Linked DNA regions of Homo sapiens: region 2 is linked to region 1. The links are contacts of gene promoters, found by promoter capture Hi-C in blood cells and fetal thymus (Javierre and others, 2016). All regions are on one chromosome and are shown on one strand. The core of a region is centred on a gene start or on the middle of the fragment in contact, and the rest is flanking DNA. Distances in the headings are between cores, read along the strand shown. Region 1 holds the start of LINC00449 (long intergenic non-protein coding RNA 449). Region 2 has its middle 4.4 kb from the start of RAP2A.

Evidence for each region. Contacts are between HindIII fragments. The CHiCAGO score rates a contact against its expected background, and 5 or more counts as called.
Region 2: a contact is called between a fragment that was not itself captured here and the fragment with the promoter of LINC00449 in region 1, in 2 of 17 cell types (fetal thymus and naive B cells). The highest score is 11.9, in fetal thymus.

What each region holds. Positions count from the first base shown.
Region 1 is chr13:99,499,735-99,502,342 of GRCh38, reverse strand. It overlaps LINC00449 (long intergenic non-protein coding RNA 449), which reads left to right and starts at 1,280. Exons shown (of 2, transcript NR_133664.1): 1 at 1,280-1,948; 2 at 2,403-2,608. It overlaps TM9SF2 (transmembrane 9 superfamily member 2), which reads right to left and starts at 871. Exons shown (of 17, transcript NM_004800.3): 1 at 566-871. The coding sequence starts at 736. RefSeq lists enhancers at 491-1,079, 986-1,165. The HindIII fragment of the contact is 1,300 bases long and covers 437-1,736 here.
Region 2 is chr13:97,428,440-97,431,047 of GRCh38, reverse strand. No RefSeq gene overlaps it. Among named protein-coding and RNA genes, the nearest start is that of RAP2A, 4.4 kb to the left of the region's middle. The HindIII fragment of the contact is 3,897 bases long and covers 1-2,608 here.

The sequences.
Region 1 (2,608 bases), core at 31-2,530:
ACCAACTTCTAATTGTGAAGCGAGATATCAAAGTCCTAGAAAGAACAAGCTCTCCTAACCAACTAGAAGGTTCCAGGAAAATGCAATTAAACAGGAAGCAATGAAGTTAAAAGCTAATGGAAACTGTTAACTAGGCTGAGTGTTGCTCACATGTAGGGAGTCGGTCACCCGCTTCCTCAGCGTACATGTTACAGGGCTGTGAGCGAACACTCACGCGTGGACCTGCATACATCCAACTCCAAAGCTCTGAGGCGTGAAGCCCAACTCCAAGGGCGCTCCACACGGTCCCTGTTCCAGGAAAACTGAATACAGCTGCTCGTGCCACTTGGCCCGCAAGACGGGAGGCGAGTCTGAGGCCCACTGCGTCCTCCAGAAACTACCCTTGCAAGGGCTGTTTCAGAGCCCCCCACCCACAGCCCAGCAGACCCCAAAAGCTTCTGGGGAAACTCAACCCCACCCGCTGCTACGCCCCCTTCCCTCGCTCCCACCCGAGGATCAGCTCCCCCGGATAGGGACGACTTCCCCTTCCAACAGTGCATCAGAGGGCTCGTCAGGCCTCACCCACCTTGCACTCGTCGCTCTTTTTTTCTTCGTCGCAGAAGTTGACGGGCGCCAGGCCGGGCAGGTAGAAAGCGCCGCTCCGGCGCGGGCCAGGAACCGCCCCCAGCAGGAGCAGCGACAGCAGCAACAGCCGCGGCCACCGAGGTGGAGACAACACCGGCAGCCTCGCGCTCATGATAGTTGTTTCGGGGAAAGGGCAATCAAACCTAGGGGGTCAAGAGGGAAGGAGGGGTGGGGAGTCTCGGAGACGACTACAAGGCCGCCAGAGATAAAGGAAGCCGGCCCCCAGAAGGCTAGTTCCGGTTGCGCTAGGAGACACCCCGGGTCCCGCAACAGAAACCGAAGCGGACCGCAACAGAGCATGCGCACCGCCGTCTGCACATGCTCAGTGAGAACGGTCGCAGGCACCAGGAGGAGTTTCCGGGAGGGAGCGGGGGCGAAATCCACTTTCCGGGTTTTCCGCGCGCCAGCTGAGGTGGTTGCTGGGAGAGGTGGTTGCTGGGAGAGCTGTTCCGGCGCTCACGTTCCAATTCCAAATTACAAATTCCGATCTAGAGCTCCCACGCTTGGGGGCTGTGGAGCGCTCGCCAGCCGCTCCCCGTTTGCTGCTGGGTCTTACGAAGTTCTCATATCCATCATACAGTTTCTTTGTCACACTGTCCGCGGCACGCCAGTCCCTATGACAGAAAGCACCTGCGGTCTGTCTGGAGGCGGAGTTGGTGGCGGAGAGAAAAAGTTCTGGAGACACCTGGTTGGGAGCAGGCTAAGGAAACAAATGGGGAGGAATTAGCCACAAATCCTCAAATAGACAGCTACTCAAAGGCATCTTCACGGACAATTTCCAAGCATTGGATGCAGTGGTGCATTCTTGCATTGGGCAGTGATTGTGTGCACACATCTCTTTAAGGGAGAGTGGAAATGGGGTGAGGAGGAAAATGGGAGTAGGATAGAGTGTAGCGTTGACATTTATTTTCTTTAAAGGAAGACCCGAGCATACCTGAGAGCTCAGTGAAGAAAGTAGTTCTGGCGAATCGGATTAATATGGTATGATCAGCCTTTAGCAAGATTCTATCACTTTTCCCACTGATGATGTGAGACGGTGTCCGCGTGTGTAAGTGCACACACGTGTGTGTGTGTGTGTGTTGCATCTTCTGAGTATTTTTCAAGGAGAAGCTTTTTAGTGATCTGAAAAAGTCAATTCAGTTAGCCACTAGAGTTCAATCAAAAACTTCGGAAGAGTGCATCATCTTAAAGTACATAAGAGAGAATCATGACCTCCAGCTCAGAATTCAAGAATAGGCAGGTTTGTGAAATAGTAAGCTCAGAAAGTTGAGGGCCAGTGAACTCCTATTTCAAGTTCTTGCGGGTGTTTGTACTTTTTTCCCAGGTAAGGTTTATAACTTTCATCAGATTTTCAAAGGGACCTAGGACCCTGCAAATTGATCCATATAGTGGGGTAGCCAAGTTAATCAAGAGAACTGGGAAGTAGAAAAGAACGTTCATCTTAAGGTTGTTGTGAAGATTAAATCAAAAATGGAGGGAAAGTGCTGAGCACATAGCTTGGCCCAAGGAATGGCACTTTTTTTTTTTTTTTTGATAACAAAAACTAATCTGGTAGGGCCTGAGCAGAAAATTGTGCCTAGGTGGCTTCCCTTTCATGTCCTCTCCCTCAAATAAATCAACATATTCGCTGAACTTTGGGATAGGGAAAAATTGTAAAATATTCTGTATTTGGAAGTCATGGAGATTTCCAATATAACAAAAGGAAGCAGACGTTTTCTCCAAATATTAAGAGGAGGAAACAAAAATTAACATTTTTGCTCACTATCTTCTTTTCCTAGCACCACTGAAACTTGACCTTCGGCCGGCGCGGTGGCTCACGCCTGTAATCCCAGCACTTTGGGAGGCCGAGATGGGCGGATCACGAGGTCAGAAGATCGAGACCATCCTGGCTAACACGGTGAAACCCCGTCTCTACTAAAAATACAAAAAAATTAGCCGAGCGTGGTGGCGGGCTCCTGTAGTCCCAGCTACTTGGGAGGCTGAG
Region 2 (2,608 bases), core at 73-2,572, 2.1 Mb after region 1:
CCCCTTAGTCATGTTCATTCCGATGCCAGCATAAACTCTATTTTGAGATGATTATAGAAATAACTTATATCTTCATTTGTTTGTGGGAAATAAAAAATAAAAATGATATAAAAGAAATTTGAATTATTCCCAAGAGCTGTAAATCTGTAAGATAGTGAAAACTTAACGCAGTAACTGACACTGCAGGATCCCTTTAGTTTCCAAAGTGCATTGCCAGGAGAATAAAAAGAAAGAAAATCTTCATTTCTCCTCTCTCCACTAAATCTGAAAGGGAGTTATCTCACCTATAGCCAGATACCTTCAATTATCGCACTTGTGTTACCGTGGAAACCCAAGTCCATCCTTTCTTTCTGTAAAAGGTGTTGGAAAAGGTGGTATGAAGTGGGAAAGGTACTGTATTCTGGGACTTCCTGACACCAGCAAGAAGCAAATATGCAGATAATTTAATAGAAACAAATTAGTAGAGGATGTTTGTAATGCGAGGGGTACTTTTCGACTGTAAAACCCTGATTCCTAATGCTTCTTATTAAAGCCTGCATGCCTCTGATTAAACATAAAGGGGAAGGGCATGTCAAGTACATTTAGCACCTGTGAAACGCTGCTGGCAAGTATAAGGAGAGCAGACGATGGTTTCTTGACCTGTGAGGCTCCTAATACAGTTGAGAATCTGCAGTATATATGTGGAGTGGAAAGGAAGGGGCAAAATAAACTTTGTTCTTCCTTTAAAAAATGTGATATGTCTCAGTGCTTTTGAAAAGAAAAGGAATTAGAATGCAGAAATTAAGAGTATGGAAACAACTCAATAAAAGAAACGTATGGGTGGAGAGAGTAGATGTTTCAAAAGGCCATTTTAATCAGAAAAAAAATCTGAAAGAAAAGACGTAATGATTAAAATGTAGGCAGAAAAAAGAAAAAGCCTGAAGAATCTTAAGAGCTAGAGGATTCTGCGGAAAACAGAGCTTCAGTGTGGTTCATTTAACAAAGCAGAAGAGCAGGCACAGTGTTGCTTGCGTACCCAGCAGTTTCCCTTTATTTTTGCCAAAGAAGCTGGGATGAATCAGGATTGGACTTTAATAGCATTGCTTTCCCTCTGCCCACGGTTAGTCCAAAAGTAGGCACGTGACTCAGTTCTTGTCATTGGAATGGGGAGAAGGCTGCTAGGGCTGGAGGGATTTCTAGGATATTGACAAGAGTGAGGAAATATCCCCGTTTTCTGATGTCGCTCTCTTTGCTTCCTGCTTTACACATTGAAATATGAGAATGTGGCCTCCATTTGGGGGCTATGATGCATTATGACATTATGGTGCAATACTGTAGAAAGCCAGCAACTTCGGATGGCCAGGGAGGAGGATGGGAAGAACCTAGGTCCTGCATGACAACATTGGACAGTCAAACCAACATTAGAACTGCCCACATTTGGACTTATGGCTAAGTAAACAGCTGGTGTCTTTCAATTTAAGTGTGTGTTGGTAAGGTTTTCTGCATCTTACAGCAAAATACATCCCACCTGTTAACAAAAAGTATGAGGGATTCCAGCCAAAATCGGGCTTTAAAAAATCAGCAAGCATTTGTGAGCACTTTCATTTCACTAATATCTGAACGATAGTTCAAAGATACTATAATATTAATTGAGTAATTACTGTGTATATTTTTTAGGCTCTGGGGATAAAACAATAAGCAATTAGCCAAAAGAGCTTGTATTCTAGCAGGAGAGACAGATATTAAGCAACCAATTACATGTTTATATTATAAAATAATGGTTATGCTTAAAACTAATAAGGAAAAATCAGGAATTAGAAAGGGTATATAGTAATTATATAAATAATAAAATATTACAAAATATATAACTAAATAACTGAATGAAATTACAAAAACAAACACTTTCCAAGTAAATGAGAATGAAATGTATAGTTTTTACTGACATTCCCAGAGGTCGAGAGAAACAGTAAATTGGAGTAGGTTAGTCCAGGAGAGTTGTCTGAAGCAAATTAATATTGTATCAGGTTTTGAAGGAAGTGGCGAAAGGACAGGCTAGATGGGGCAGAAGAGAGCACTCTAGATGTAAGGAACCAGAAGAGCAAAGGAAGAAAGCAGGAATGAAGTAAGAGTGAATGAGGGAAATACCAGAATCACTTGATTTTTTAAATTCCCTGTAGCAACAGCATTCTAGGGGCATCTCTCAGAGAAAAAGACAGAAAGATGCCAGAAGTCTCAAAGCAAGATTATTTAAAGGTATAAAAATAATATAGGAGAAAAATACAGAAGACAAAGTAGGAGTACAAGAGTGCATTTGAAATTAAGGCGTCATTCAAAATAATGAATAATTTATAATGTGGGCGTCAAAAGAGTTGTCATAAGAAGTAATTATGGATTTAAGGGCATCAAGAAGGAGGGATTCAAACTTTCACAAATAGAAATAGAAGGAAACATGAGGAGTGGCAAAAAATGAAGACAGGTAGAAAAACAGTTTTTGCTTGTTATTTTTCCATGATAGCTGTTATTGACATGCATTATGTAGAAATGAATGGAATTTGTTTGAAAAGAAAAATTTCAATAGAGCAGTAATACATAAAGGTAGGCTTTTTGGTAAATAGTGTAATTTAAAATG